Regions from separate parts of the Homo sapiens genome. Here regions 1, 3, 4, 5, 6 and 7 are each linked to region 2. The links are contacts of gene promoters, found by promoter capture Hi-C in blood cells and fetal thymus (Javierre and others, 2016). All regions are on one chromosome and are shown on one strand. Each heading gives the region's core, a stretch centred on a gene start or on the middle of the fragment in contact. The rest is flanking DNA. Distances are from core to core; before and after follow the strand shown.

Region 1 (2,839 bases), core at 1-2,500, 310 kb after region 2:
CATCCTGATGGGAGAGGAAAAGCAAGTATCCCTTTCATTTCATAAGTGAAAAATAGGAGAATGATTTCACCAATGTCATTCATTCATCAGGTCTGAACTGGTACTAGGACATAGCTTAAATATTTAGTTACTTCTAAAACATTTAGAAAGTATACATCAGTAGGCTTTTGCCCTTCCCATCAATTTCCTAGTGATCACCAGGAAAATATCAGGCTCAGTTTCACCTTCCGTTAGCAACAAAGGGAGAAAATCCAGGAGGTCAATTGGGGATTATCATACAATGTTCAAGAATAAGGGGGTGCTTTTGAAAAAAGCAGAACAAATTGCCCACCCAGAGTTGTGGGGCTTATTAAAGGATTAAAACAGTCCTCTCTGAAAATTGAAGTGAATCATGTGAAATGGAAGTGATGGCTAGGGTATGTGCTTTAGGAAAGCAAATATACCTTTAGCAACTCGAAACTGCAAAGACTCAAAAGGGGAACAAAACAGACTAGAAGAATTTCCTCATTTAAAAAACAGCTTTCGGCTGGGCGTGGTGGCTCCCACCTGTAATCCCAGCACTTTGGGAGGCCGAAGCAGGCGGATCACCTGAGGTCAGGGGTTTGAGACCAGCCTGGCCAACATGGTGAAACCCTGTCTCTACTAAACATACAAAATTAGCCAGGCATGGTGGCACACACCTGTAATCCTAGCTACTCCAGAGGCTGAGGCGGGAGAATTGCTTGAACCCAGGAGGCGGAGGTTGCAGTGAGATGAGATCGGGCCACTGCACTCCAGCCTGGGCAAAAAGAGTGAAACTCCATCTCAAAAAAAAAAAAAAAAAAAAAAAAAAGGTTTTCATCTCTTTTCCATCTTTTCCAATAGTTTTCCTTGCTAAGCTTGCCTTTTAAGAGACTTTTTTTTTTTTTTTTTTAGACAGAGTCTTGCTCTGTCACCCAAGCTGGAGTGCAGCAGCGTGATCTTGGCTCACTGCAACCTCCGCCACTTCAGTTCAAGAGATTCTCATGCCTCAGCCTCCCGAGCACCAGGGATTACAGGCGTGCACCACCACGCCTGGCTAATTTTTGTATTTTTAGTATAGATGGGGTTTTACCATGTTGGCCAGGCTGGTCTTGAGCTCCTGACCTCAGCTGACCCGCACATCTCGGCCTCACAAAGTGCTGGGATGACAGGCGTGAGCCACCGTGCCCAGCCAAGAGACTAATATTAATATACAGATAAACAACCAATCATAATTATCACTAGCTTTATTCTCAAACCCAAATTTCAGCCAAATGCTTTAAATCACTCCCAGTTCTAGGGTAATACCATACTTTCTAGATGCTTGCAATCTCATACCACCATTGCTTCTACAAGACATCCATAAATCACAGCACCCAAACTGTTTATAACTTTCCCTTTGTGAGTCTCAAATCATAGCAAGACTTAAGGGAATACTCACCAGATAACGCGGCCTTTTTCTGTTTCTGTTCTGGTGTCAGCCCTAACCCTGAAATTCTTTCATTGTATCTTTTTTCATCCTCTTTCATAGTCTTGTAGGCCTGCGGATCCAAACATGGAGAAAGTTTATTTCACCATACAGCTAGCTCATACTGTAAGTAATATTATCTTTCAATTAAATGAGAAGCTTTTGTCTATCTGATGTTAGTTCCTCTATGTCAAAACCACTAAGACAAAGTTGTTTTCTTAAGAAATAAAAAATACTGGGTGTGCACATGCTTGGTATGGAAAAAATATGTGTAAGCAGATGAAAATATTCCAGTTTCAGATTTTTAGGCTCTCTATAAAGAATTCTCCCCATATTTTATTCTGAAGGTACAGTTTAAGAAAAAAGAAAAAATCATTTTATACTAGAAGAATAAAGTGCTAGAAAGGGCTAATCTATATATGAAGCACAGAAACGGGGTTTGGACTACGCTGGACACTAGCTGTGAAATCAATCTATAGGGTCCCGGGTAGGAAGCTGGGACATAAGTTTTCCTGGTCAACATTCCGGCTTTTGCTAAGTACTCACACAGTGGTCAGAAACATGGCTGCCTGTATTCTATTTTTAGAGAGTTACCCATCATTCCCTCAATGGTCTATCCTTTTCTTAAACTCACGAGGTAGAAGGAATCTCATTCAGAAAAACTACACACAGATATTTACTAGGGGGTCAAACACCTTGCTTAAACACACCTGTTACATTTCAAATATTCTATCTTCTCTATCCTTTCAAATTGGAAAAGGGTAATTTTACCATTATGACCAGTTGTGTGTTGTTCTTTTTTAACATACAGTACCAGAGTTTATTGGAGACTTTTTTTTTTTTTTTTTTTTTTTTTTTGAGACGGAGTCTCGCTCTGTTGCCCAGGCTGGAGTGCAGTGGCGGGATCTCGGCTCACTGCAAGCTCTGCCTCCCGGGTTCACGCCATTCTCCTGCCTCAGCCTCCCAAGTAGCTGGGACTACAGGCGCCCGCCACTATGCCCGGCTAATTTTTTGTATTTTTAGTAGAGACGGGGTTTCACCGTTTTAGCCGGGATGGTCTCGATCTCCTGACCTCGTGATCTGCCCGCCTCGGCCTCCCAAAGTGCTGGGATTACAGGCGTGAGCCACCGCGCCCGGCCTATTGGAGACTTTTTAAAGAAAAGGTAGGCAAGAATGACTTAACATTACAATGCTTTTGGCCGGGCATGGTGACTCACACCTGTAATCCCAGCACTTTGGGAGGCTGAGGTGGGCAGACCACCTGAGGTGAGGAGTTTGAGACCAGCCTGGCCAACATGGTGAAACCCCATCTCTACTAAAAATACAAAAATTAGCTGGGTGAGGTGATGCACGCCTGTAGTCCCAGCTACT
Region 2 (2,796 bases), core at 195-2,694:
AGGACCACACAGCAGCAATGCTGATACTGCTAACTTCCAGTCAAGGGCATGTTCCACTATGCCACAGTGTTCTTTCAACATCATTAAAAGGACTCTAAAAATAATAGTAGAGTTTCTGTCCTTATAAAACCTCCCTCCCTTCCTCCACTTCACCTTCTTTCTTCAATTAGCCACTCGAATATGAATCACAGCAGGGAACAAGTCACCCTCTGGCAGGGCCAGGAGGTTCTGGACGCTCTGTGCACATACGTGCATTGTATTTACACAAAACAGATTTCCCCTCATCAAACCCTCTGCAACTTCCTGAGTCCGGGAAATGAAACAATCTGGCTGGTCTAGCCTAACATTTGTGAGAATCTTAATGAAACCACATCAGAGACCTGTAGGTGAAAGGCTGACTTAAGCAGGAGAGATTCTGGAATGGTTGGTGACTGCTGATGGCTGGTTGGGGGGTGGGGAATGGCAGCAGCTAAGAAAAGTCACAAGGGCGCTTTCTGGGACATGTCCTAAGTACCATCTCTACTCAGCATCCTGAATTCCCAGGCCCAGAGTTTCTCAGCCTCTGCTACCCTTCTCCTCCGCTCAGGTGTGGTGTTGTGGCCTCTATTTACCGACACCACATGCCCCACGCTGGCAGGACTGAGGCGGAAGCCTGCAGCCCGACGGACGGAGGGAGAAACAGCCAACTCGCGGGCTGGAGAGGGCAAAGGTCCAAAAACAGCCTAGGAGCGGAGCAGGGAAACGAGAAGGTAGAAGGTTCGGGGAAGGGGAGGGGGGCCCAGAGGTGCAGAGAACCCGTCCTTTGTGTAAAACTAACCTGGAAGACAATCTCCTCCCGATAAACCGGCCCAGCGGGAGAAGGGAGACCAGGAAGGGGGAGCCGGCCTGGAAGAACAAAGATCAAAATCCGTCGGGAAGCAGCGACCGGCTCCCCAGCGGGGGGCCGGAGGCCGGAGGCCGGAGTCCGGGGCCGAGCCGCGGGCGCGGCCTCTCGAGGCCCGCCCTGACTCCGCCACGCCGCGGACCACCGCCCCAGGCAGGTTGGGACGCGCGCCACATCCACACGCACACGCAGCCACACGCTCGTACACACTCACACACGCCCCGCCACGTGTAGTCACCCCGGGCCAGGGGCTCGGCGGCTGCCGAGTTGAGAAGGGCGGTGCCGACGTCCCCGCCTCCAGGCGCCGCGGAAGGGGAGGCAGCCCACCCTGCAGCCGAGCCCAGGAGACCCCCGCCCCCACCCCTCGTTACCTGAACCACGGAGACCCAACTCGGCCGGCAGCTGACGGCAGGAAACGGACCGTCCCAGGGAATCACGTCGGCAGCCAAAGGTGGCAGCGACTTGTCCTCCCCGGGCCGGGAGGCTGTCTCCTCCTGACAAGGGGCCCCAGTGGTCGGGGCCCTAAACCAGCTGTGGCAACCGCCCACCACTGGCCAAATGGAACGCTCCTCACGTCACCAGGTCGCTCCAGTAGTTGCTCGCCCTCTATTGGCCGATCGGCCTCGGCGCCTCCGCCCCGGCCGCCCCTATCCCGAACTGCCATTGGTTTTGCCTAACGCCACTCGACGATGCCTCCGCCCACTCCTCCACCCATCTCCCTGCTGCATGCCCACCTGCCAAGCCACTGCCAGCCTCTCTTTGGGGTCTGAGCGCCAGTATGTGAAGTGTTGCCTTCTATTAATATAGTTACGCAGAGACGGAGGTTAAGGGTAGTGCCGATGGGACAGCAAAGGGTGGAACCAGCCTACACACACGCGCGCGCGCGCGCACACACACACACGCGCGCGCACACACACACACAGTGAGATGCTGAAGCAACACTAGCTCACAGATCCGGGTGCTCACCCCAAACTAGGTCTGCCATGGGCCTCTCCAGCCCTGCTTGCATTTTAAAATCAACCGCAACTTGAGATTTTACTCTTTATCGGCATAAAAACAAGTCATCTGCCTCCCAAGTCTCATTCAGTAGCCAGGGACCCCATATCTGTCCCAGTCACCCTAGCCTGCATCTCTAAGTCTTTCAAATCAAAACACACAAACAAGCATAAAAAGCATGTTGTAAAGGATAAATGTCCCCAAGAACGTATTATCATTTTGCAGCACCTAAAACAACTAATTGACATTAATGGAGTTAAAGAAACTCCACTGAGGACATAAATTCTTCCAGGTAGGTAATGAAGTAAAGATTGCCAAAAAGGTTGTAAATTTTTATTCGGTTTGGAAAGCTTATGATGATTAAGGGGAGAATCCAAGGCAGAATTCCCACCCACCAACCAGATTGATTTTTTCCTTCTGCCACCCAGCTCTGCATTACTGCCACCATGAGCCACTGCTACTGATCCGAGTGAGTTGCATGCATTAAAAGTTTGAGATTGGGCTGGGCGCGGTGGCTCACGCCTGTAATCCCAGCACTTTGGGAGGCCGAGGCAGGTGGATCACCTGAGGTCAGGAGTTCAAGACCAGCCTGGCCAACATGGCAAAACCCGTCTCTACTAGAAAGACAAAAGTTAGCGGGGAGCGGTGGGACTCGCCTGTAGTCCCAGCTACCAGGGAGGCTGAGGCAGGAGGATCACTTGAACCCAGGAGGTGAAGGTTGCAGTGAGCCAAGATCATGCCACTGCACTCCAGCCTGGGCGACAGAGAGAGACCCTGTCTTAAAAAAAAAAAAAAAAAAGTTTGAGATTGAAGGGGGGAAACAATTGAGAACCACAGTATTATACTATAGGGTGACTTTAAAAGACACTAGGTCTGTTTTCACCAGTATGGCTCCTGCCTTCCAAATATAAGAGGAA
Region 3 (2,729 bases), core at 219-2,718, 350 kb after region 2:
ATTCAGTTTTAAAAATGAAGCTGTGCTGAATATGTCCTTCTTTTAAATTATTCAAAACTGAGGTAACTTGACCGCAAAGCCACTTGGAAGTTACCAAGAGAACTAAATCAACTGTTTGAAATTACTTCAAATTGTGGCCTTTAAGGATTTGACTCAATCAATAAGACAACTTGTTAAGTAGCTGAGTTTTCCAAGCTTGGGGTATCTACTAATTTATCAAGGATTCTTATGTTCTGAGGCACTGAAGATTTGCTAGATAGAAATACCCTCTTCTGTTATTTTATCAAGAAAAACACTTACACAACTTAACACTTTCCTTCGATTCTATGTTATGATAATCTAGTTAGGAGAACATACTGGAGAAGATAGACGAGGGGGAAAAATGGAGATAAGGGGAAAACAGAAAAGGACGATTTCAAGATTGAGTGAAAATATCCCTACTCTCTGAGAAAGTAAGGTATTTCTCAATCATTTTAAAAGTCCTACAAAAGGAAAGAACACTTTACTACTGCTATTTAAAATTACATGTTTTTGGCCAGGAACGGTGGCTCACGCCTGTAATCCTAGCACTTTGGGAAGCTGAGGCGGGTGGATCACCTGAGGTCAGGAGTTCGAGACCAGCCTGACCAACATGGGGAAACCCCGTCTCCACTAAAAATACAAAAAAAATTAGCTGGGCGTGATGGCGGGTGCCTGTAATCCCAGCTACTCAGGAGGTTGCGGCAGGAGACTCGCATGAACCCGGGAGGCAGAGGTTGCAGTGAGCCGAGATCGTGCCACTGCACTCCAGCCTGGGTGACAGAGCAACACCCTGTCTCAAAAAAAAAAAAAAAAAAGAAAAAAAAATTACGTTTTCATATAATTAATTGTATTGAATAAGTACCCAAGATTTCATTGATTCAAGATTCCTTTATTTCTGGAAGTGAATTACTGGTAATAATGAATAAAGAAGTTTCTTTTAAAGAAGGGGTTCTTTAGCACAAAAGGAATGCTTCCCTCCAGAGCAGACAGGATTCCGTAGTAGTTTTCAATAAGGCAGTGTCATTTCGTAGTCCTTAGACAGAAAAAGCCAGAGCTACGCTCATTTCCGACATTAGAGAATTATGCCACATGTAATTGAAGCACTGTGATAAGATGTCATCCACCCGACAGTTTGAAGGAATGTACTTCAAGACCTGGGAATTATAAGCCAAAGTTATGAATAACCACAATGTTGATGGATTGCCACTAAAACTGTCAGAGAAGATTCCACTGATGTGTTGTTTCCAGGGTCTCAGCAGTAGTGATAGTAACAGCAGTAACAGAATTAACAGCAATAACAGCTGAAGCAGCAGCAGGAGTAGCAGTAACATCAGCATTGTTTATTCATTGTCTACTCTGTCACGCCAGAGCCAAACGTTATACATATATAATATACAGATGGTCCTCGAGTTACAATGGTTTGACTTATGAGTTTTTTTTTTTTTTTTTTTTTTGAGATGGAGTCGTGCTCTGTTGCCCAGGCTGGAGTGCAGTGGCGCCACCTCGGCTCACTGTAACCTCCGCCTCCCAGGTTCAAGCAATTCTCCAGCCTCAGCCTCACAAGAAGCTGGGATTACAGGCACACGCCACCATGCCCAGCTAATTTTTGTATTTTTTTTTTTTAGTAGAGACAGGGTTTCACCATGTTGGCCAGGCTGGTCTTGAACTCCTGACCTTGTGATCCTCCCGCCTTGGCCTCCCAAAGTGCTGAGATTACAGGCATGAGCCACCGTGCCCGGCCAGACTTATGACTTTTGTTGTTGTTGTTGAGACAGAGTCTTTCTCCCTCGCCCAGGCTGGAGTGCAGGGGCACCATCTTGGCTTACTGCAACCTCCGCCTCCTGGGCTCAGGTGATCCTCCCACCTCAGCCTCCAGAGTAGCTGGGACTACAGGCGTGCACCACCACACCCGACTAATTTTTGTATTTTTAGTACAGACGGGATTTCCCCATGTTGGTCAGGCTGGTCTTGAACTCCTGGGCTCAGATGATTTGCCTGCCTCTGCCTCCCAAAGTGCTGGGATTATAGGCATGAGCCACCACGTCCAGCCAACTTATGATTTTTTGACTCTACAATGCTGTGAAAGGGATACACACACCTTCAGTAGAAACTGTACTTCAATTTTTTTTTCTGGGCTAGCAATATGCATTAGGAGATTCTCTCGTGATGCTGGGCAGTGGCAGCGAGCCACAGCTCTCAGGCAGCCATGAGATCACAAGGGGTAAACAACCAAAAACACATTGTACTGTGTTGCCAGTAGAGTTTGCCCAACTGTAGGCTAATGTAAGTGTTCTGAGCACATTCGAGGTAGGCTAGGCTAAGCTACGATGTTAGGTAAGTTAGGTGTGTTAAATGCATTTTCAAGTTATGATATTTTCAATTTAGGATGGGTATGTCATAATGCAACCCCATTGTAAGTTGAGGAGCGTTTGTGTATATATATTCCTTACAACTTTGCAAGAATATCACCATTACATGCCTCTCACTGATGAGGAAGCTGAGACTGAACAAGTTCAGGTAATTTACTCAAGGCTACACAGCTGTTCAGATACAAAACCAGGATTGAAACCTAGGACTGTTATTTCGAGGCTACACTCTCTTCAGCAGCCCCCCCAGCCACCGAATATCACAGTGGTATGGACAAACAGATATTTTTCAGTGTGGAGGATTAGAAACAGTAGAAGTCATGCACAGCAGCCTCTCCAAGT
Region 4 (2,854 bases), core at 166-2,665, 370 kb after region 2:
GAGGAAATGCAAGAGATGACGAACAGGGTTAACTTAAAAAAAGTGGGACATGTCTGTTTTTTGAGATTAATGTCTGAAGGAAAAAAAACCTTGAGACAGGAAAAAGTTAATCTTGAGAAAAACGAAAAGTATGACCTCTGAGTAATTATTAGGCAAGGTTAACAACTGAGGGACTAGAATAAAATCTGACAGATGTTGTAGATAAAAACAAAGTGGTATTTTTGGCCGGGCGTGGTGGCTCACGCCTGTAATCCCAGAACTTTGGGAGGCCGAGGCGGGCGGATCATGAGGTCAGGAGATCGAGACCATCCTGGCTAACATGGTGAAACCCCGTCTCTACTACAGATACAAAAAAAATAAAAATAAAAATAAAAATTAGCCGGGCGTGGTGGCGTGTGCCTGTAGTCCCAGCTGCTGGGGAGGCTGAGGCAGCAGAATGGCATGAACCCGGGAGGCGGAGCTTGCAGTGAGCCGAGATCATGCCACTGCACTCCAGCCTGGGTGACAGAGCAAGACTCCATCTCAAAACAAAACAAAACGAAACAAAAACAAAGCGGTATTTTTAAAAGGGCAGGACCAAATTAAAGATCATGAATTCAGAGCTGATTGAATCAAGCATGGTGTGGTAGTCTAGAACTGAGCATAGGGATACATCAAAAAGGATAAAAGATGCAAAGATAGCAAGACTAAGCATGCCTGAAGATATAAAGGATTTTAGGACAGAAACAAAGCAGCATTCAAAACAGAAGACCTTGAGGGCATGGTTGGCTACAAAATTGAATTGATACTACTGGACTAGAAAAAGGGGTCAAGACTCTGAAAGTCATGGGGTAATGAGAATTCAAAATAAGTATTGTCTACAATGAGGTAAAATGGGATGGTGTTAAGAAAGGGGATACAACAAAGCAGAAAGGGATGTAAAGTGCTAGCACTAAAGAAGTAAAGGTATCATAAGGTCAGGCTGACCACCAAAGGGAAAAAAATCCCTGCAAGCCAGGTGCTGAAGCCATCAAAAAACGTGGGTGAATCCTTCAAAGTGGTAGCTGATTATGAGCAGAAAATAATATAGAGGTCTTGTTATAATCTGCAAGAAAACAACTTTTATTGGTTATACCTATTTCTTTTTTAAAAAATAGAAATGAGGTCTTGCTATGTTGCCCAGGCTGGTCTTGAACTCCTAGGCTCAAGCAATCCTCCCTCCTTGGCCTCTTAAAGTGTTGGGATCACAGGCATGAGCCATTGTGCCTGGCTAGTTGTATCTTATTTCTAACTGAAAATAAATGGAACTATCTTAATTAGAATAATGAACTTATATCTGGAAACTTTTTGGTTATTTAAAATAAAATCCAATCTGAAGGAATAAAGCAAGCCCCTGTGAATGAGGTTCAAATGAAAGTAAGGGGGGCTCTGAAGTCTTTCCCTTGTGTAGAGTAGACCATAGGTGCTCAAATTAAGTTGAATCAATGCATGAAAAGGAATTCTAACGGTAGCATCATGACTGGAATATTCCTACAGTCTCTTATGTTTCATTGAATGAATGCAAAGATGGATGATCATAAAGACAAATGGACAGACAGATGCGGGAGACAGAGACAGGATAATGTTCTTAGCATCATTAAAAAGCCTGGAACCTCTCAAAGTGATCGCTGTGAAGAGGATAACACTCAGGAAATTACATATACAGGGGTCCCTGTATCCATGGGGGATTGGTTCTAGGACCTCCTGCAGGTATCCAAATCTGCAGAGACTCAAGTCTCTGATATAAAATGGCATAGTACTTGCACATAAACTATACATATCCTGCTGTATACTTTAAATCATCTCTAGATTTGTGAACCTATGATACCTAATACAATGTAACTGCTATTACATAGTTTTATACTGTATTGTTTAGAGAATAATGGGAAAAAGGTTTGCACATGTTCAGTAAAGACCTAATTTTTTAAAAACACTTTTATCTACAGTTGGTTGAATCCACAGATGTGGAATGCAAGAGCTGATCATATTTATTTGATAAATATATTGAAAACACTTAACATTTTATGTTAAAAAATAACCACTTTTTGAAAGACATAAAAGAAAAAAAAGTCCCATAGAAAAAACAAATTTCCCTAACAAACTCATTTTAATTTCATTAGTCTAATTGTTCTCAGAGTTTTTGTCCCAGTAATTTTATGAGTTACTATGCTGGAAAATAGTACAAGGAACATCTTAGAAGTTCCCTATTGCTAGACCCTTTTAGTTCCTTGATGAGACAAACTTGCTTTCAATAGGATAACTCTGTTTTCAAAAAACAAATGACCCAAATGGAAATTCTGATTGGCAGTTTACATGTTTAACTTACCTCATCATATGATTTACAAAGGCTTTGTTACAGTTAGTATTGTACTTGCAAAAACTGCAGTGGATGTATATAGAAAAGTGGCTTGCAAAATCTTTTATTTTGGAATGACATTCAATGCACTTGTGAATTCCCCGACGACACCTTATGGAGACGGAAAAAAAAGATAAAAAGAGATTATAAAACAAAAATAACAGGGGAAAATCTTATTAACATTTTATTAACTGAAGCCAAAATGTTTAAATTGGTATCTTTAAGTAGACTCATAATTTCAAAATTTGCTTTGAAACAAGCTAGAGTAAGTGTAAAAAATTTAACACCAGTTAACATTTCCCTGGAATAAAAGGGATCAAATAAACCAATTAATCTATCATAAGATAAAAGCACAAAATATAAGTTTAGTGTAAAAGATGAAAATTAGAGAATAAACACAATGACTCAAGTTCTGCTCAGCAGTTGTAAAAAGTACCTTTTTCTCATTTGCTTGGTCTTTATGCCAGATAAGTGATTATC
Region 5 (2,700 bases), core at 177-2,676, 390 kb after region 2:
AAGACTACACACTAAAACAAGGGTGGAAAACAAAAGAAAAACTTTCCTAAAATCACAAAGTGAAAGACTTTTTTTAAAAAAAAAAGGACAAAGAAAGCATAACAAAGCATTGTGACAAAACTAAGACCAATTAAACCTATCAGACCAGTTAAATTTCTCCTACCAATGAATATACATGGGTTTAACTCAACTTCTAAAAGAAAAGAAGTTTTCATATAGGATCACAAAAGAAAAAACTCTGGTGAAAGCAAGAAAGAACAAAAACAAAGTGATTTGGGAGGGTTGAAAGTAAAAGGATAAGCAAAGAATATAACAGGCAGGTGGAAACAATAAGAAAGCAAGGGTTGTGAGCCTGATATCAAACAAAAAGCACTGAACAGACAAAAAGGACACTATAAAAATGCTAAAGGGTGCACCCACAATGAATCGTAAGAGATGGATACATCTATGTCCTAAAGAGCAACACCATGAAACAGAATTGGAAGATATCAAGGGAAACAGTGGTAATGTGAGACTTGGATTCCCCTTTCCCAAACACACTCAGGGAGGTGAAAACAGCCAAAGACTCTAATACAGTTTTGCGTCAGAGTAAAGACGTTTGTATTTGCAATTTTAGAATTCCTTTTTTGTAAAATGCTGAATTTTAATAAAAATTTGCCAATCTTTGAAATAGTGAACAATTCCTTTTCCTAAGTTGCTTCTTTGCTTTGCACTCGTCTCATCACTTATTTCCCACATATAATCAACACTGACTTTTTTCTTGCCTCCTTTGCCCCTTCCTGTCATTTACACTGGGCATGCAAAGAGAATACAGACTATCTTTATACACACATAACAGAATACTGTAATATCTACTAAAATATTTTAAGTGGCGTGTTACCTTAATCCCATACTCTATTAGTACTGTGAAAATTACCTAAAACCTAATTTCAAAGAGCTTCCTATATTAATAGAAAGCTAGAATTCATTTATAACTATATAAACTATATTATGGATTGAGTTAAAACTATCATTTCATATGAAATGCTCCATCATTAGAAGTTTATTTCTGAGTGTTGAAAATTAAAATGTAAGACTAAGGTTTTCATAGGGTAATGTGACATGCATTAAGTCACCACGGGCAAAAATAAGGTTTTCACAGGGTAATGCGACATGGATATGTCACCATGGGCAAAAAATAAGGTAAACAAAAGGAGCTTTCACTTTACACAAAAGATTAAGCACCTAATAAAACACCTGCTTTACAGGAAGTTTGAAGAATGTCATAATTTAGTCAATAAAATATTGCAATTTGTACATTATTTTCATTTAAAATTAAAATGCAGGCCAGGCGCAGTGGCTCACACCTGTAATCCCGGCACTTTGTGAGGCTGAGGCCAGTGGATCCACTTGATGCCAGGAGTTCGAGACCAGTCTGGCCAACATGGCAAAACCCCGTCTCTACTAAAAATACAAAAATTAGCCAGGCATGGTGGTGCTACGTGTAATCCCAGCTACGCGGGAGGCTGAGGCAGGAGAATCGCCTGAACTGGAGAGGCAAATGTTGCAGGGAGCCAAGATTGTGCCACTGTACTCCGGCCTGGGTGACAGAGCAAGACTCTGTCTCAAATAAATAAATAAATAAAAATAAAATACAATATGCATACACTGTACTGCATATGAACTTAATTAAAAAATTTAAATTGATACATAATGTTTATAAATTATTATGGGGTACATGTGATATTTTAAGTGCACAGAATATGTAATGATCAAATCAGGATGTCTGAGGTATCCATTACCTCGAGTATTTACCATGTCTCTGCGTTGGCAATATTCTAAGTGCTCTCTCCTAGCTATTTTTCACTCTACTTTGCACCAAACATTACAACTTATTCCTTCTATCTAACTGTATATTTGTGCATAATAACCAACCTCTCTTCCTCTTCTCCTACCCCTCCACACATACCCTTCCCAGCCTCTGGCAACTATTGTTCTACTCTCTACCTCTATGAGATCAACTTTTTTAGCTCTCACATATGAGTGACAACGTCCATTTGTCTTTCTATGCTTGGCTTATTTCACTTAACATAATGGCTTCCAGTTCTATCCATAACTTTATTTTAAAAATTTCATCATTGGAAAGGATTTTAAAATCTTATATAATCATTGTGAATATCAATTTTAACTTAAGTTACATGGAAATGCCAATACGAGGTTTCTTCTCTAAATATCTGGATAAACCAGCATTTACTGTATATCAATTTTCAATATTTTCAAGGATCTATAAAACATTTTTAACAATTGAACTTTGAAAAAAGTTTTACCTTCATGTGGTATTTCAAAGGATCCAAAAGATTGAACTGAACATTGCACTTTGGACAAGCTCTTAGGTAATCTGCTCCAGCATCATATGGAGATGAGGTATTTGTACCTACAATAAATTAAGAACTTTTAAGACTCAAATCCATCTTTTTAAAACCTTAAATGACCACTAATAATGGTTTTAAAATTCATCACAATTTCTAAAACGTATATAAAAATAATACTATTTTTTTTTACATGTCAGATTTCATGTTTACCTTTTGACAGCATAACTTGGGAGGATGTCACTGGAGGAGAGCCAATTAAAGGCAATGAAGTGGAGGGATTTATCTGAGGAACATCTTCACTGGTCTTTGGTTTTTTTGGAGTAACACTGTTTACTTTAGAAGTAGAAGG
Region 6 (2,883 bases), core at 20-2,519, 430 kb after region 2:
ACATCAAAGGTACACAGCCCTAATTTTACAAGCAAATCAGTGCCTTTGTAGGCTCAGTGAAGTTTCTGCGTAAGGAGATTAAGTTTGCACAGTAACCCCCAAACCAGGACACCTCACAAATACTAAGAGGAGACTTTTGCAGTTTAAAACTCTACTTCTAGGTTTCTATTTTATGTTTAGGGGCACTAAAAGACATTACAACTCATAGTCCAAACCTGAAAACAATAGTAAAAAAAATTTAAGGTCGCAGATTTAAAAAACTCCACAAAACTAACAAATCTTTCCAAACAAAGAGAATCCCCTGGATGAAGGTCTCCCGTGCTTGCAGAAGCTGGTTCACTTGACAATTTCCTCTCGAATTTCTCCTTAAAAAAGCATTAAAACCTGAGAGAAGTTGAAAGGAACTCCCTCCATCTCTAGAGCAGGAGTATACCTCAGCATAATTTTTTCCATCTCTTTAAGTAAAACCTGCAAACCTCCTAGTTAGAATATAGTGTATTTAACTCCACGTTTCTCCTCAGGGCTCTTATCCTCTAGACAATAACGGAATAGAGCACGATTTCTGTGACAGAGAAGGGAAGTCCCTTTGGCCAGAACAAGGTTGTGGGCATGGAATGACCGGTCCTGTGTGGGGGGAACCTGCGCAGAAAGAAGGGGTCACAGGGTCTCTGATGCCTGAAAGTTCGGAATCCCCTCAAGTCTCTTTTCGTTTGATTGAAGAGACTTGAGGGTGGGCGGGTCTCCGTCAAACATCAGTATCAACCGTACAAAAGACGAAAGGGAGTTGCCTCCAGAATGAAAAGCCCAAACCGGGTTGGAAACAGACCGACAGGACTCAGGAGGTGAGAAGGCTGCCGCAGCTGCCGCGGCCCGCGAAACCACTGCCCGCCGCGGGCCGCCAGGCTCTACCTCCAGAAAACCCTCCCCCTTCAGGGCCCGGCGCAAGATGGTGGCCCACCAGCTACCACGCCGCCAAGCCTGTCCCCTCCCCCGCACCCCCGTCGATCCGCACCGGCATAGAGACCCTCAGCCAGCCGCCCTCAGAACCGCCCTCTGGGGAAGGCTGCCTCGGCCGCGCGGGAGAGCTGCTGCCTCCTTCCGCGCGGCACAGGCGGGGGCGGGGGCCGCTTACCGAGAGCAGAGCAGATCGGTCTGACTGGGGTTCGGATAAGGAGGAGGAGAAAGAGGAGGAGGAAAGGGAGGAGCGCGAAAAACCTCAGGCGACAGCCTCAGCAACAGCGACTCCCCCGGAGACTTCCAGCGCGGAACCGGCGTCTCAGCCGGGGGCAGAAGTATATAACTGCACGCGCTGCCTCATGGGTAGACGCCGACTCCACCCCCTGAACATCCGGGGCCTTTTAACCGCCCACGGACGGACGGCTGGTACTTACATGTGCACATGTGCAGCTACTTTACTTACCGTCGAAGGCAGCGGAGGAAGTGTAATTGACTAGCGTGGATGCAGCTTTTCTAAGCAAACGCTCGATTTAACCTGGAGTTGTCATCCCAAAAAATACATTGTACCTGACTACAGAGAAACATGAATTCTGGGTCTTCCTTGTGTGTGAGGGCTAAAGACACGAGTTAAAAATATAAATATATTGTTTTCTGGAAATACTGTACTTGAAACACGTCTCAAAATACTAGTTATTTTTACCTTTTGTTTTAAACATATGGTTTTGCTTGTCTCTCTGTTACTTCTAATTGCCATATGGATGCCTATAGTAGGTACAAAAAATGCTAAGGAAAAATACATTTACTCTTACACACAAGGAAGACCCAGAATTCATGTTTCTCTGTAGTCAGGTACAATGTATTTTGTGGGATGACAACTCCAGGTTAAATCGAGCGTTTGCTTAGAAAAGCTGCATCCACGCTAGTCAATTACACTTCCTCCGCTGCCTTCGACGGTAAGTAAAGTAGCTGCACTTGTGCACATGTAAGTACCAGCCGTCCGTCCGTGGGCTGGCCGCGGTGGCTCACACTTCTAATTCCAGCACTTTGGGAGGCTGAGGTGGGTGGATCACCTGGGGTGAGGAGTTTGAGACCACTTCCCTTTCCTCCTCGCCTTTCTCCTCCTCCTTCTCTGAACCCCAGTCAGCCTGACCAACATAGTGAAACCCCATCTTTACTAAAAATACAAAATTAGCAGGGTGTGGTGGCACATGCCTGTAATCCCAGCTACTTGGGAGGCTGAGGCGGGAGAATCACTGGAACTTGTAAATACATTTACAAGAAAAACACTTGCCAAAATACTGCTTACAGAAACATTTTCTAGACATTGTGCTTTGAACTGTAAAAGTTTCTTCTCCCAAATTTCTCCACAAGGTTTATAGCAGTACTGGTTCATCTCTCTTTTTCTTTTTTGAGACGGAGTTTCGCTCTTGTTGCCCAGGCAGGAGTCCAATGGCGTGATCTTGGCTCACCGCAACCTCCGCTTCCCGGGTTCAAGTGACTCTCCTGCCTCAGCCTCCCGAGTAGCTGGGATTACAGGCATGCGCCACCACACCCGACTAATTTTGTATTTTTAGTAGAGACGGGGTTTCTCCATGTTGGTCAGGCTGGTCTCGAACTCCCCACCTCAGGTGATCTGCCTGCCTCGGCCTCCCAAAGTGCTGGGATTACAAGCGTGAGCCACCACGCCTGGCCCAATTCATCTCTTAAGAGTTGCCCAGACTGAAAATATCGTGTGGCTTACATAACACACACGTAAATCCTGTCACTGAATCCTACCATTTTTTTTATTTGAGCTAGTTTTTTCTTTCTTATTTATACAGCTATTTGCTTCTGACCCTGAAAATAAGCTTTACAGGAAAAGACAGAGAATAATCAAAATAAAACAGTGAAAAGTCCCAAAATCTTGGAGCATGCATAGTTGGTCCC
Region 7 (2,872 bases), core at 27-2,526, 320 kb before region 2:
AAACCAGTAGTTACATACAGCAAGGTGGTGGGATTGTGTGTAATATTTTTTTCTTATTTTGCTTTTCTATTCTAGTTTTCCTCAATGAAGGTGTTTCTTTATGTAATAGATAAATACCATTTTATAGATGAATCAAAACGTATTACTCAAAACTGAACAAGTTGAAATTAATCCTTAACAGAAGGAGTATGACCTTGTAGATAGGGTGAGTCAAAAACAAAAACAAAAACAAAAAAACAAAAAAAAACAGGCCAGGTGCAGTGGCTCACGCCTGTAATACCAGCACATTGAGAGGCCGAGGTGGGTAGATCATGAAGTCAGGAGTTCGAGACCAGCCTGGCCAAGAGGGTGAAACCCCGTCTCTTCTAAAAATAAAAAAAATTAACTGGGTGTGGTGGCAGGCACCTGTAATCCCAGCTACTTGGGAGGCTGAGGCAGGAGAATCGCTTGAACCCGGGAGGCGGAAGTTGCAGTGAGCCAAGGTCACACCACTGCACTCTAGCCTGGGTGACAGAGCAAGACTTCGTCCCGAAAAAAAAAATGAACAGAACAATTTCACACAGAAGAGACAATGCAGTAGTAATGTATAATGTAGCAGAAGCAATGTGAGTATTATACGGTTCACAATAATGTTACTTGATTGAGGAATGATTTTTGACATTGTTTTAGGCGGTATATAAAATGATTTTTCTACTTTTAAGCAATTTTGCAAAACTAGCTCAGGAAAAAAAATGAGATTTTCTTTCTTTCTTTTTTTTTTTTTTTTTTTTGAGACAGAGTCTCGTTCTGTCGCCCAGGCTGGAGTGCAGTGGCACAATCCCAGCTCACTGCAACCACCACCTCCTGGATTCAAGCGATTCTTCTGTCTCAGCCTCCCGAGTAGCTGGGACTACAGGCGTGTGCCACCACGCCTGGCTAATTTTTGTATTTTTAGTAGATATGGGGTTTCACCATGTCGGTCAGGCTGGTCTGAAACTCCTGACCTCTTGATCCGCCCGCCTTGGCCTCCCAAAGTCCTGGGATTACAGGCGTGAGCCACTGCGCCCAGCAAGATTTTCTTAAATGCTCCCAACCCTGACATTCTACCCACCCATACATGCCCTAAAACACGAAACACATGCTAAATAATCTGAATTGGGTTTGCTAAAGGCCCAATATTTTTTCACTATTTAATACTTTTTATTTCCACTTAAATAAGTCAGAGTTAGTTTCTATTACATGCAAGTAGAAATTCTCATGGATGCACATGTTACCATTGATTTCCATGTATTTACTATGTATGTAAAGGCACAATATTATCCATGGCGGTATTATTAGAGGCAAAATAGTACAATTATTACCAGCTTTGGCTGTAGAGTCAGAAAGACTTGGAGTTCAGATTCTACTAAATTGTTTAACCTCTCTCTCCTCTGATTTGCATCTGTAAAATGGGTATAATAATACCTAATTCAACGTGATCTCATGAGGATTTAATGTAAAATATGTGTATAAAACATTTAACATGATCCCGGCATATAACAGATACTCAGTGGATGGTAGTTAACAAAAAGAAAAAAGCAGGGTGCTGCTTTGAGTTTTGGCTAAGCCAAGGAAAAAGCCAGAATATGATAAAGTAAGTCTGAAAGTCAGTGCTAAACTAAAATAGGAATAAGGCGGAAGTGCTGTTTGCCAAGTTCATTTTCTCTGTTCATTATCATTTATCAGGGTCAGCAATTTGGTGCAGTTACACTTCCCCAAAGGTAAGTTCTGAAGAAAGGCAGTAATGAGGGAGAAGAGGGTTAGGCTACTTCTCTACTTAGACTGTGACTTTTTTGAGGACAGGAGTCATACTCGATTTGTCTTTGTTTAAAAAGAGGCCGGAGGGGCCAGGCACGGTGGCTCATGCCTATAATCCCAGCACTTTGGGAGGCCGAGATGGGAGAATCACCTGAGGTCGGGAGTTTGAGGGCAGCCTGACCAACGTGGAGAAATCCCGTCTCTAATAAAAATACAAAATTAGCTGGGTGTGGTGGCGCATGCCCATAATCCCAGCTACTTGGGAGGCTGAAGCAGGAGAATCACTTGAACCTTGGAGGCAGAGGTTGCAGTGAGCTGAAATCATGCCATTACACTCCAGCCTGGGCAACAAGAGTGAAACTCCATCTCAAAAAATACATAATAATAGTAAGAGGTAGGAGGGAAGGCAGTTCAGGGACTGGCTCCCTAGCTACATCATGCCCTCCCCACTCCACACATATTCTTCAGCTTCTATGTTGCCTTCTGGTTTCTCCCATTTCTCTTCCTTCAATCTTGTCCTGAGTGTCCATTCTTGCCAGATTTCACATGCATAATAATACACTTACATAACATTTTTCAGGGCTCTCCCCCAGCTTACCCACTGCGTGTGGAACAAGATACCAAAAGACAAAAGACAATAATGTCTACATACACACACACACACCACACACTCTCTCTCTCTCTCAAAAAAAAAAAAAAAAAAGGATTGGGTCCTTGTCCTGGGCCTAGATCAGTGGTTTTCAAACTTGAGCACATCAGCATCATCTGGAGGGCTTGTTAAAACACAGATAGTTGGCCCCACTCCCAGAGTTTCTGAATTGGTAAGTTTGGAGTGGGGCCAAGAATTTGTCTAACAATTTCTCCACTGATGCTGATGCTGTTGGTCCGGGGACCACACTTGGAGAACTAGTGACCTAGAACGAGGACCAGCAAACTTTTTCTGTAAAGGGCCAGGTAGTAAGTATTTGAGGCTTTACAGATTATAAAGTCTGTCACAACCGCTAAACTCTGCTGTTGTAACATGAAAGCAGCCATAGACTATAGGTAACCACATGAACATGGCTGGATTCCAATAAAATTGTTTTTATGGAAACTG

The links. The method cuts DNA at HindIII sites, captures the fragments that hold promoters and counts their contacts. A CHiCAGO score of 5 or more calls a contact.
Region 1: a fragment that was not itself captured here is called in contact with the fragment with the promoter of ZDHHC9 in region 2 in 5 of 17 cell types (M1 macrophages, naive B cells, non-activated CD4 T cells and 2 more); the score reaches 6.7 in M1 macrophages.
Region 3: a fragment that was not itself captured here is called in contact with the fragment with the promoter of ZDHHC9 in region 2 in 11 of 17 cell types (neutrophils, total B cells, activated CD4 T cells and 8 more); the score reaches 13.3 in neutrophils.
Region 4: a contact is called between a fragment that was not itself captured here and the fragment with the promoter of ZDHHC9 in region 2, in 4 of 17 cell types (activated CD4 T cells, non-activated CD4 T cells, neutrophils and 1 more). The highest score is 8.5, in activated CD4 T cells.
Region 5: a contact is called between a fragment that was not itself captured here and the fragment with the promoter of ZDHHC9 in region 2, in 5 of 17 cell types (activated CD4 T cells, naive B cells, naive CD4 T cells and 2 more). The highest score is 7.2, in activated CD4 T cells.
Region 6: a contact is called between the fragment with the promoter of ZNF280C here and the fragment with the promoter of ZDHHC9 in region 2, in 4 of 17 cell types (activated CD4 T cells, non-activated CD4 T cells, naive CD4 T cells and 1 more). The highest score is 6.5, in activated CD4 T cells.
Region 7: a fragment that was not itself captured here is called in contact with the fragment with the promoter of ZDHHC9 in region 2 in 1 of 17 cell types (monocytes); the score reaches 5.5 in monocytes.

Annotation. Positions count from the first base shown.
Region 1 is chrX:130,148,028-130,150,866 of GRCh38, forward strand. AIFM1 (apoptosis inducing factor mitochondria associated 1) reads right to left here. Exons shown (of 16, transcript NM_004208.4): 3 at 1,442-1,541. It also overlaps a transcript of RAB33A not described here. Among named protein-coding and RNA genes, the nearest start is that of AIFM1, 16 kb to the right of the region's middle. The HindIII fragment of the contact is 749 bases long and covers 877-1,625 here.
Region 2 is chrX:129,842,442-129,845,237 of GRCh38, forward strand. It overlaps ZDHHC9 (zDHHC palmitoyltransferase 9), which reads right to left and starts at 1,445. Exons shown (of 11, transcript NM_016032.4): 1 at 1,255-1,445; 2 at 818-885. The HindIII fragment of the contact is 4,624 bases long and covers 1-2,227 here.
Region 3 is chrX:130,195,436-130,198,164 of GRCh38, forward strand. No RefSeq gene overlaps it. Among named protein-coding and RNA genes, the nearest start is that of RAB33A, 25 kb to the left of the region's middle. The HindIII fragment of the contact is 2,551 bases long and covers 194-2,729 here.
Region 4 is chrX:130,212,849-130,215,702 of GRCh38, forward strand. It overlaps ZNF280C (zinc finger protein 280C), which reads right to left. Exons shown (of 19, transcript NM_017666.5): 15 at 2,345-2,485. Among named protein-coding and RNA genes, the nearest start is that of RAB33A, 42 kb to the left of the region's middle. The HindIII fragment of the contact is 3,342 bases long and covers 1-2,854 here.
Region 5 is chrX:130,233,908-130,236,607 of GRCh38, forward strand. ZNF280C (zinc finger protein 280C) reads right to left here. Exons shown (of 19, transcript NM_017666.5): 7 at 2,562-2,700; 8 at 2,307-2,413. Among named protein-coding and RNA genes, the nearest start is that of ZNF280C, 34 kb to the right of the region's middle. The HindIII fragment of the contact is 6,518 bases long and covers 1-2,700 here.
Region 6 is chrX:130,267,630-130,270,512 of GRCh38, forward strand. ZNF280C (zinc finger protein 280C) reads right to left here and starts at 1,270. Exons shown (of 19, transcript NM_017666.5): 1 at 1,133-1,270. RefSeq lists a silencer at 971-1,050. The HindIII fragment of the contact is 6,334 bases long and covers 1-2,802 here.
Region 7 is chrX:129,527,495-129,530,366 of GRCh38, forward strand. No RefSeq gene overlaps it. Among named protein-coding and RNA genes, the nearest start is that of SMARCA1, 5.4 kb to the left of the region's middle. The HindIII fragment of the contact is 5,151 bases long and covers 1-2,872 here.